Linked DNA regions of Homo sapiens: regions 1 and 2 are each linked to region 3. The links are contacts of gene promoters, found by promoter capture Hi-C in blood cells and fetal thymus (Javierre and others, 2016). All regions are on one chromosome and are shown on one strand. Each heading gives the region's core, a stretch centred on a gene start or on the middle of the fragment in contact. The rest is flanking DNA. Distances are from core to core; before and after follow the strand shown. Region 1 overlaps KLHL3 (kelch like family member 3). Region 2 overlaps BRD8 (bromodomain containing 8). Region 3 holds the start of PKD2L2 (polycystin 2 like 2, transient receptor potential cation channel).

The links. The method cuts DNA at HindIII sites, captures the fragments that hold promoters and counts their contacts. A CHiCAGO score of 5 or more calls a contact.
Region 1: a contact is called between a fragment that was not itself captured here and the fragment with the promoter of PKD2L2 in region 3, in 1 of 17 cell types (M2 macrophages). The highest score is 5.3, in M2 macrophages.
Region 2: a contact is called between a fragment that was not itself captured here and the fragment with the promoter of PKD2L2 in region 3, in 3 of 17 cell types (M2 macrophages, M1 macrophages and M0 macrophages). The highest score is 6.4, in M2 macrophages.

The regions. Positions count from the first base shown.
Region 1 is chr5:137,621,962-137,625,457 of GRCh38, reverse strand. It overlaps KLHL3 (kelch like family member 3), which reads left to right. Exons shown (of 15, transcript NM_017415.3): 15 at 3,332-3,496. The coding sequence ends at 3,360. Among named protein-coding and RNA genes, the nearest start is that of MIR874, 24 kb to the left of the region's middle. RefSeq lists an enhancer at 2,490-2,539. The HindIII fragment of the contact is 1,498 bases long and covers 550-2,047 here.
Region 2 is chr5:138,150,404-138,154,119 of GRCh38, reverse strand. It overlaps BRD8 (bromodomain containing 8), which reads left to right. Exons shown (of 27, transcript NM_139199.2): 21 at 1,360-1,638; 22 at 3,112-3,375. Among named protein-coding and RNA genes, the nearest start is that of NME5, 13 kb to the right of the region's middle. The HindIII fragment of the contact is 1,764 bases long and covers 839-2,602 here.
Region 3 is chr5:137,888,207-137,891,768 of GRCh38, reverse strand. It overlaps PKD2L2 (polycystin 2 like 2, transient receptor potential cation channel), which reads right to left and starts at 2,312. Exons shown (of 15, transcript NM_001300921.2): 1 at 2,247-2,312; 2 at 1,187-1,288. The coding sequence starts at 2,277. PKD2L2-DT (PKD2L2 divergent transcript) reads left to right here and starts at 2,450. Exons shown (of 4, transcript XR_948815.3): 1 at 2,450-2,622; 2 at 3,481-3,562. The HindIII fragment of the contact is 1,963 bases long and covers 962-2,924 here.

The DNA.
Region 1 (3,496 bases), core at 49-2,548, 270 kb after region 3:
TGTCACAAGTGATTTTAGAATTTCATTGCCATTCCTGGTTTACTTTGTGCCAGGCTCCTAGATGGCATAAGATGCGATTGTTGTTGTCCAGGGTCGAATTGGACAACTGGGAAGACAAGATGATGCATATACAAGTTCTAAATGACATACGCTAGACAGGTTTTAGCACATGAAAGACTGGTGAGAACTGGCAAAGCCAGGGAACCCTTCCTGGAGGAGATAGGCTCAATTAAACTTTGAGGGTGGATCACAATCACACAAATAGCTGTCCTTTACTGCGTGGCTGGCCCCGTGCCATGGGGCAGTGTGTTAGGAACAGAGTGTGCATTTGTTCTCATCTTTTCAACAACCCTTGGGCTGAATGGGACTCTATCCGTCTATTTTATGGATGATATAACAGGTTTGGAGAGTTTAAGTAACTTGCTGAAGGCCACACAGCTAATAAATGGCAAAGTCAGAGTTCAAACCCAGAGTTCTAAGTCCATGCCCTTTGTGCTACCCCAGCTCAGGGTAAGCCTTAGAGTAAGGCACCAGGCGGGTGTGGAAGCTTCTTGGGGAGTGTGTGTGAGGGGTTTGGTGAGTAGCAGGGGCAGGGGTGGCATCAGAGTTGGTACTACTAAGGTTGGGTCCATGGGGAGATGAGCAAATATATATCCATGGTGTAGTTCAGTTCCTTGTATCTGGTTTTCCAGAACCTGGAATAGAGATAACATTATTGATCCAGCATGCACAGAACATACCAGGCATTATCCAAAGTATTTTATAGTCATTATCTCTTTTAATCCATACCACGACTCCAGGAATATTCTTCCGATTCCCATTTTGCATTATAAAGGTCAGTCATTCCATCTTGTTTGACTGCAGAGGAAGATTGTGCTGTGCAAATTTGAAGGAGTTTGCAGCACATTCTTTCAACATAAGACTTCTGTTGTAATGAACTTTAACTTTTTTCTTCCTTTAGAGTTTTTTTCACCTTGTAATACTTTTCTTGGCTAAGTATAAAACATTTTAGAAGAAGTTTGGTCCTGGAGTAATTCTGTTCTGGGATGAGTGAGACAAGTGAGGAATCTTCCCTTGACTCCATGTGTGCCTTAATGAGAGGGGAAGAGTTAAGTGTGGGTGGTTAGAATTTCATATATATGCTGAATATTTCATGTCCCTTTCTTCATTGTCTGCCCTCTCCAGAAGTAGGTAGGAAGGAGACAAGCAAACCTGCAATTTTATGTTCAAACCCACTTACTGAGTCTATTATCTTAAAGTCTAAGGAAATGCTCCAAAATACAAAGATTTATGGACAAATTTATTGGGGCCTTACTTGTAATAGCAAAAAACTGAGAATTACTTAATGTCTGACATGAGGGAAATAGCTAATAATCTATGGGATATTTATATAGTTTATGGATTTTTAATGTTATGAGAAAACATTTGTAATAGCCTGTTAGGTTAAAAAAGGATGCAAAGTTGTATGAACCTTGTGAACTCACGCATATAGTCCTGTATTGGTGGTAGTGGGAGTGGGGGTTGAATAGCTGCTGCTTCTTCTACAGATGGATATTGGAGTCAGATATGAATTTGAATCCCAGCTCTGCCACTAGCCCTGGGTCTCCGGGCCAGGTATTCTATCATACTGAACCCCTGTTGTCTTATTTGTAAAATGGGAATAAAATTAGACTAAGCCTTTTAGGGTGCTGTGAGAATGAAATGCAGTAATACTTGTGAAGAGCTAAGCACAATGCCTGCCTGGCATTAGACACCATGCAGTAAATGATTGTGATTATTGTTAGATGCTAGAAAGTATTCCAAAAAGACAGTGGTGGTTTTCTTTGTGTGAAGGGATTAAAGATTTTTTCTTTGTGTTCTGCATTTTCCAGATTTCCCATAATGAGAATATATTACTTTTATTATTAAGATAAAGGTTATATGAAAAAGCAACACAGGAGCCTGCTTTCAAGAAAAAAAAGCTACCTTCTGAAAGAGATGTCTGAGATTCAAGTAAGATGCTGTCAAGACCAGGCACCTGGACTCAGGTTCTGCCTGCCTTGAAGCTTCTGTGTCTGCACCTTTAGCCAGGAATAAACAGGAAATAGATGTCTTAGCAGAATATCTCCAGTGGGGTATCCTGGCTTGATTTTAGCCATGTTCTCTCAATCTCATCTTCAATCAGAACATTTCATAGTTGTGGGACTATGTTAAAATAAGGCTGCAGTAATATCCTGCCTGTAAACACCTGTAAGTTAGGATTTCATTTAGCAACAGGCACCAGAAACCCTGACAGATACTTTCCTAAATAAGGAAGTGAGTGTATTTGTCTCAAGTAGAAAGAAATCCAAGGTTGGCCTGGGGGCTCAGACTGACAGAACCAGGTTTCTCTTCTCTTTTCTATTCTGCCAGCTTTATCAAGGGCTGCTGCCTCCCCTTGGCCTTGCGTGAGCATTCCAGTCACAACAAGAACAAAGCCAGCGTTGCAACACTGGCACACTTGCCTTTACAGTCTTAGTGGCCAGCACTGGGTCACGTGGCACATCTAGCTGCCAGGCAGTCTGGGAACCTGAGCTTGCAACTTGCTGGTGGCTGTAGTCGAGGATAGCAAGTAGGAAGGATGTTGACGGAATCAACCTGTAATATCTGCCATGTAGCCTCAGTCCCTTACAGTGAGATTTTGGGTCATGCGTGGATTTATAGTTAGGTGCTGAGCATGGTTCACTCGGACTAAAACAGTAACATAGCATACATGTCTGGAGCATTTATCAAAGTCGAGATTGTCACACTGGCAGGGTCTCTTAGATGACATTTGTGTGGGAACTGAGCCTAAAGAGGTCAAAGAACTTGCCAAAGGCCATAGTGCAGGTTGACTGGTGGCAGAGCTAGGAATGGAATTCAGTCTTTCTTGCTCCCATGAAGGCAGCCTGCTGTACTTTCCGCTTCATTCCAGTGTCTTCTAAAAGTAGAGATGAATCACCCATTGCTTCTCTTACAGTGATTCAAATTTAGAACTGCATAGCTGCCCCTGGGCGCTGAGCATTGTTGGGCTGGGTGCTAGGGCTGGGGATGGGAGTCACCACAGTGAGTCCATGTGATGACACAGGGTGAGGCCACTAGTCAGTGGTGTTTGAGGGACTGTGCTCGTAGGTTCAAGTGTCTTGCCAGGACTTGGCTGTTGGAGTGGGGAACAGCCAGCTGCTAGCAGCCTGAGTCCACTTCAATATTAGGATAAAAATTGCACACATTTCCCTTGGCTGTGACTCAGGATATCTTGGATTCATGAACTCACTGGGACTCTGAGTAATTTTGGAGAAGCTAAGATGATAACTTTCTCCCCCTTTCTTATTAGGTGTTGCCGTGATTCACAAGTCCTTGTGACCCAAACTCCTACTGCCAGGAGGTGGAGGAAGGAGCAGGTGCTGCCTGTGACTCTGAACAGCAGGACCTTGGTGACTGGATTCAACTTGCTTGGGAGGGTCTGTGCTGCTGTGAGAACCGCTCTCCTCTGACTTGG
Region 2 (3,716 bases), core at 471-2,970, 260 kb before region 3:
ACTATGGCATTTATTCAGGAAAGGATGGACACTGAGAAAACTTATTGTGGGAGAAAACTGGGAAGAGGACTTGCTTACTGAATATAAGAGAAGGAAGGGTCAAAACAGAATTGTGGGTTCTGTAGACTAAGAAAATGGTGATGGGGTCGGGTGTGGTGGCTCACGCCTGTAATCCCAGCACTTTGGGAGGCAAAGGTGGGTGGATCCCCTGAGGTCAGAAGTTCAAGACCAGCCTAGTCAACATGGTGAAACCCCGTCTCTATAAATATACAAAAATTAGCCGGGCATGGTGGTGGGCACCTGTAATCTCAGCTACTCAGGAGGCTGAGGCAGGAGAATTGCTTGAACCCAGGAAGCAGAGGTTGCAGTGAGCCGAGATTGGGCCATTGTGCTCCAGCCTGGGCAACAAGAGTGAAAGTTCGTTCAAAAAAAAAAAAAAAAAAAAAGAAAAGAAAAGAAAATGGTGATGGGGATAAGGAAATTGGGAAGAAGCAGTGATTTTGGAGATAAAGGAAATGTGATTTTTATTTTAGAAATGTTACAGCAGGTGGTAGAGCATCTAAAGGGAATTGACTTTTGGATGCATGGAGAAATGACACCAGAATTCATATAAGAAGTAAAGGTAGAGAGATTTGGGAGCCACCTGAATAGAGGTCAAAGTTGAAACCTCAAAGTATATATACATTTTTTTAAAATACATTAATAAGAAAGCAGAGGACCAAGCATGAACATAGAAGGTAGGGATTTATTGAAAGTTGTAAAAGGGAGAGGACAAAGAAAGATATAAAAAAACCAAGATAGTGGTGTAATGAGAGCAAGGGAAGATATATTTTAAGCTTAATGTTTCTCAACATCAATTTGGATATGACCAGAAGGATGCCAAAGGCAATCCTAAAGTGTGTTTTGAAGGTTTAATGGTTCATAGGTTAAAAATGTTTATACACTGAGGAAAATATCCCCTGCCCCCTCAATTTGTTTGCCTTACGGTTTAGTTATGGATGATTTGGGCTAGAGGAAAATAATTGAGCTAGCTATGCTCCAGTTCTTTCCCTTCTTTTGGTGTGAATATGAGGAATTCCAAGTAAAAATAATTATTAGGTAATATTAATGTCTCTATTATACTGTATTGTATGGTGCAATATCTCTGTTATACTGACATGGGGCTTTCTTTATTCCCAAAGACAAATATAATTTCATCTCATGTCTCCCTTCAGCAAGATTTTAATTCTTCCTAATGATGAATACTTGAATACAAATAAATTTCTGGCCCCTTATTTTTCTACTGAACTCGGGAGATGGAGATGCCTCAGGAATATTTATTTGAATGAATTTAATGCATGTTTTCCTGTGTATTTACAGATGGGACACGAGTGGGTTTGGCTGGATTCTGAACAAGATCATCCCAATGACTCTGAGTTGAGCAATGACTGCAGGTCCCTCTTCAGCTCATGGGACTCCAGTCTGGATCTTGATGTGGGCAACTGGAGGGAAACTGAGGATCCAGAGGCTGAGGAACTAGAGGAAAGCAGCCCGGAGAGAGAACCTAGTGAACTGCTTGTTGGGGATGGAGGCAGTGAGGAATCTCAGGAAGCGGCAAGGAAAGCCAGCCACCAGAACCTCCTCCACTTTCTCTCTGAGGTAACAGTGAGCTCTTATTTCCAAAGCTGGAAAAGCCTCAACTTTCTAAGAGAATGCTTATCCTTACATGCTTCTACCACTCTTAATATTGTTTACTAAAATATAAGCTCCACAGTGGCAGGGATTAAGTTCATTGCTATGTCCTCAGCACTTGGTGCTGATACAGAATATGCACCAAATACATGCTTTTTGGGCCGGGTGCAGTGGCTCACGCCTGTAATCCCAGCACTTTGGGAGGCTGAGGCCAGTGGATCACTTGAGGTTGGGAGTTCGAGACCAGCCTGGCCAACATGGTGAAACCCCATCTCTACTAAAAATACAAAAATGGCCGGGCGCAGTGGCTCATGCCTGTAATCCCAGCACTTTAGGAGGCCGAGGCGGGCGGATCACTTGAGGTCAGGAGTTCAAGACCAGCCTGGCCAACATGGTGAAACCCCATCTCTACTAAAAATACAAAAAATTAGCCGGGCGTGGTGGCGGGCGCCTGTAATCCCAGCTGCTCGGGAGGCTGAGGCAGGAGAATCACTTGAACCTGAGAGGCGGAGGTTGCAGTGAGCTGAGATCACACCATTGCACTCCAGCCTGGGCGACAGAGCGAAACTCTGTCTCTAAATAAATAAATTAATTAAAATTAAAATTAAAATTAAAAAATTAGCCGGGCTTGGTGGCATGTGCCTGTAATCCCAGCTACCTGGGAGGCTGAGGCAGGAGAATCGCTTGAACCCGGGAGGCGGAAGTTGCAGTGAGCTGAGATCGTGCCATTGGACTCCAGCCTAGGTAACAGAGCGAGACTCCGTCTCAAAAGTAAAAAAATTAAAAATAAAAAAATACATGCTTTTTGACTGAATTTCTAATACTTCAGTCATTAGGGGCCTGGGTCATAAGGACTGCTTTATGAGTATCCTTGTAATTCATGCTTTTGGAGTTGTGGGAAGTTATACTTGCCCAAATTTTCCTTGAAGCTTAAAATGCTGTAACTTTAAGGTAGTATTTTTAAGTGTCATTACCTTGGTTAAGGGCTGAGGACCAGAAATAAACAGAATTGGACAGAGAGTTATATGTATGCTGTTATTGAACACATTTAGAAGACCCTAGATCAAGATCAGCAAGCATCCATTTCAAATGTTGCCACTTCTCTCTACAAGTGTCTGTGGTAGACAAAATTTTCAACACTTTATTCTAGACAGCCACTCCCAATTGATCAGAGTTGACAGCTGAGATGAAAAAGTAGAACATAAACTCCTGGAAGAGGCAAGAACCATATCTTTCTTGTTCACTGTAGTGTCCCCACCAACCAGCCCAGTGCCTGTGTATATAAGATATTTTGGCAGATTTTAGATGATTGTATTAATTAAACCATTTTGTCCTCTCAGACTTAGTCACTGTGACAGTGTTAGCATGTGGCATTGTTGATATGTGGATGATGATTTTCAGTGGTGTTCCTGTGCATCTAATAATAAACTTTGATTGCAGGTAGCTTATTTAATGGAGCCCTTGTGCATCAGCAGCAACGAATCAAGTGAAGGCTGCTGCCCTCCATCTGGTACCAGACAAGAAGGAAGGGAAATTAAAGCTAGCGAAGGAGAAAGGGAGCTCTGCAGAGAGACTGAAGAGCTTTCAGCTAAAGGAGACCCCTTAGTAGCTGAAAAGCCACTGGGAGAAAATGGAAAGCCAGAGGTGGCTTCAGCTCCCTCAGTTATTTGTACAGTTCAGGGACTACTCACAGAGAGTGAAGAGGTAAGAAAGTAACTTAAATCAGCTGTCTTGTTGGTCTTCTGCCTAGGGAAGCAGAACAGAGTAGTTAGAGCACATAGGCTAACTCCAGAAAGTTAAACTACCTGGATCCAAATCCTGGATTTAGCACCAGTTTTAGCTGTGTTACCTTTAGCATGTTAGTGAACATTTTAGAACTTCAGTTTTCTCTGCAGAAATGCAATAATAGCACCCTATTTTGTGGGATTGCTGTGAGGTTTAAATGAGATAATTCATGTAAAGCACTTAGCACAGTGCCTGGCTTATAGTAAGCAATCAGTAAAATTTAGAATACCGTCATCATTATTAATATTATCTGGCAGGTG
Region 3 (3,562 bases), core at 1,063-3,562:
GAGGTTGCAGTGAGCCACTGTACTCCAGCCTGGGTGACAGAGCGAGACTGTCTCAAAAAAGAAAAAAAAAAGAAAAAAAATCACATTATAAATGGAGATTCAGGTTGCTGTATTATATTAAAAAAAGTGTTCTTTAAAAATCTCTGAATAATGGGATTATAAATGATCTTTTTACTTACATTTTTACATTTTCCAAATGTTCTGTAGTAAGCATGTAGTTTTCATAACCAAGCTTTTATAAAGCAGTCTAAGATATCTTAATTTATAAAGTTGCCTACAGTTATCTTTTTTTTTTTTTTCCTTGGGACAGGGTCTCAGCCTGTCACCCAGGCTGAAGTGCAGTCGTTGCAATCACAGTTCACTGCAGCCTCGACCTCCTGTGCTCAAGCAATCCTCCACCTCAGCCTTCTCAGTAGCTAGGACTACAGGGGTGTGCCACCACACCTGGCTAATTTTATAGTTGTCTTTTCAATCAAGAGCAGACTCAAACTCACCCCTACAACACCAATTAATTACTTAATTGCTATACAATTGCCAGTGTGTAGCACATACCAACATGAGACAATACTGCCAGTGAGCTTTCATCTACTGTTATGTTGGGTGCCATCGACAAATGCTCTTTAATACTCCTCTTTGCATATTAAGCCAATGCTATTGACCCACAGGTAGGAGGAATGCAGGTTGAGATGTTTTCCCAGTCCTCCTTAATTATTTGCATTGACTCAGCACAAACTATTTTTTTAACTGCAATAGGTCAGTGAAAAGAACCAAGCTAATGGCAGACACCAAGATGAACTTTGGCCTCATTTGTACTTTGATTTATGAAACTCAGCTGATGTGTCTATATGACTCTAAACAAAATCAAATTGCAGTTGCCAACCCAAGGGATGAATTATGCTCAAGACAGAACTGCCAAATGAAAGGAATAATTCTAATTCAGTCAGTATTGACTATGGAAGCTTCTTACATTTGCGATGTAAAATTTTGCCCCTTAAGAACTGAAAATAGTCAATTTCTAAATGAAATGAATCTAAATGAATTTAAGATTATGTTTAAACGTGTCACTGTATTTTGAGTTTTAGTAGCCTGACAGCCTGTGGTTTTGAAGTTTGTATGTTTTATTTTTCATCTCCACATTTTAACTTCTTAGTTCAAACAAACAGCATCTTTATATCTGTGTACTTACATATACATAGGTTTATTAAAAAAATAAAGTAGAGTAACAATTCCTGAAGTGTGGTTGTAATTTCTACTTCCTTTCTGTAATGCAACTTATGTTTCGAAGCCCCTGTGAGATATAAGACAAAATTTTTCTTTACATTATTATGTAATTTATAAGTGACAACAATGGAAAAACCACAGCCACTTTTAGTCCTTACACTGCGGGGAGGAAAGCTCCAATAGCTTCTGGCTATTTTTCAATTCTTAGTTTTACGAGGCAGGGATAATTTTTTTACTATATACTATTAATAACAGATTTTTTTTTTGAGACGGAGTCTAGCTCTGTCGCCAGGCTGGAGTTCAGTGACGCGATCTCGTCTCACTGCAGCCTCCGCCTCCCCGGTTCAAGCGATTCTCCTGCCTCAGCCTCCCGAGTAGCTGGGACTACAGGCGCGCGCCACCACACCCAGCTAATTTTCGTATTTTTAGTAGAGATGGGGTTTCACCATGTTGGCCAGGATGGTCTCGATCTCTTGACCTTGTGATCCGCCCGCCTCGGCCTCCCAAAGTGTTGGGATTACAGGCTTGAGCCACTGCGCCCGGCCACTAACAGATTTTATATCATGATGTCTTCTCGCCAGTCTTAAGATGAAAAAGCAAAATACGAAACAAGTAAAACCTCTCATCTGTCCTAACCGTTTTCTCCACCCTCAATACAGCTTCTTGGGAAGGCTGGTTTCTGCTGGACAGGGGAAAAACACCTCGGCTTGAATTCTGTCAAGGTCACGACTCCCCAGATCAACCAAGGACTTTAGAGACCGGCCTAGCGACGGTCACTCGACAGGTGACAACGCCCAGCTCGAGCCTCCGGCAAGAGGCGAGCGCCACCTCGCTCAGGGCTTCAGTTTTCCCGTCTGTGCAATGGGACCATCTGTCCCTCTCCGCTTCCCCAGGGGAGGCTGTGAGGGCTAAAGGTGTCGGCAGTCACATCTCTCAAACGAATTTGGGGCCGCAGAGTTCCTTTCAGGGTGTCTGGAACTGCCAAATCGCCCCTGTCCCTCCCACTCCTTAAGAGGACCCCTCACCGCCTCGGTGCCACCGTGACGCCTCAGCCATGGCGGACCTGCACTACACCGCCCGTTCGTTCGCCTGAGGCCGCGGCGCTTGCGCGCTAGTCTTGCGGCGCGCGCTGCCCGGCTCTGACGCCTGCGCGAGCCCCCAGCTCCTCCAGGGCGGCGAGCTACTCGACAAGTCGTCAGCGCGGCTGCGCCGCAGGAGCCCGGGAGGCCTTTCGCCCGAGGCGGGCTGCGGGCTGCTGGGGTCTGGTGCGGAGGGCCAACTTCTGGGAATAACCTGGCTGTGGGCTTAAAAATCGTAGTCATTCATTATCACGGGCTTCTCTCTCTCGAATACCTTTAACATTTATCGCCTTGTTAGTCTCCACATCCACCTCCGTGAAAGGTAGGTATTTTTGTCCTCATTTTAGGCCTGAAGAAACCGAGAAGCTGAGAAATGAAGTAATTCACTGGAAGTTGGGGCCAAGTCTTGGATGCCCAAGCCCAAATTCCTAACCGTGACCCTACGCTGCTGCTGCTGCTGCTACTTGCAGAAACTGGTTATTAACCGAGAGCTGTTGCTGGAAGTAGCTTCCACTCCCCTGCCCCCGTGATGTAAAAATAGATGAAAAACTCTGCAGTGATTATGTGAAAGGTCAGGCCGACACAGGAGTCCTGGGGCCCAGACCCACATCTGACCCAGAAGCTTTGCAAAGATGAGAAGGTTGGTAAACCAGCTATAGAAAAGGCCAAACTAATTTGGCTGTAAATTAAGGCAGCCAAAAGCCCTCCAGGATGTAAGACCAGGACGGATTCTCGTGTTGATAAAAAGGAAAATAAAATGGAATCCAGTCCAAAGGCCCCAGGGAAACCTGCAAAGAAAACCACTAACCAGTTTTGAAAGTAAAAGATAAAGCCACTTTTGTTATTTCCCTGAAAGAGATGTAGACTGCTGTCGATAAATGCTGTTTTATGTGTAGATAAAAAGCAAAACGGCCACACAGTAGTGAGGGTCAAAAACTACCATCGATGAGAGGAACAGGAGAGGCCTCGCAAAAGGCTGACAGCCAGTGAACTAGAAGCCCGAGAGGAAAAAAAGCTTTAGAATAGTTTTAACAAAAGGATTTGGGCTTTCCTGTACTGGGACTCTCAGCTGTTCACAAAATTATGCTTTCTAAAGTAACAGATTATCTGAAATTGAAATTATTAGAGGAAAAACACCCATATATAGGTAATCAAATTTACATAATTTTTTTTTTTTTAGAGATGGAGTCTCGCTATATTTCCCAGTCTGGCCTCAAACTCCTGATCTTAAGGGATCCCCAGCTCAACCTCTCCCAGCAGCT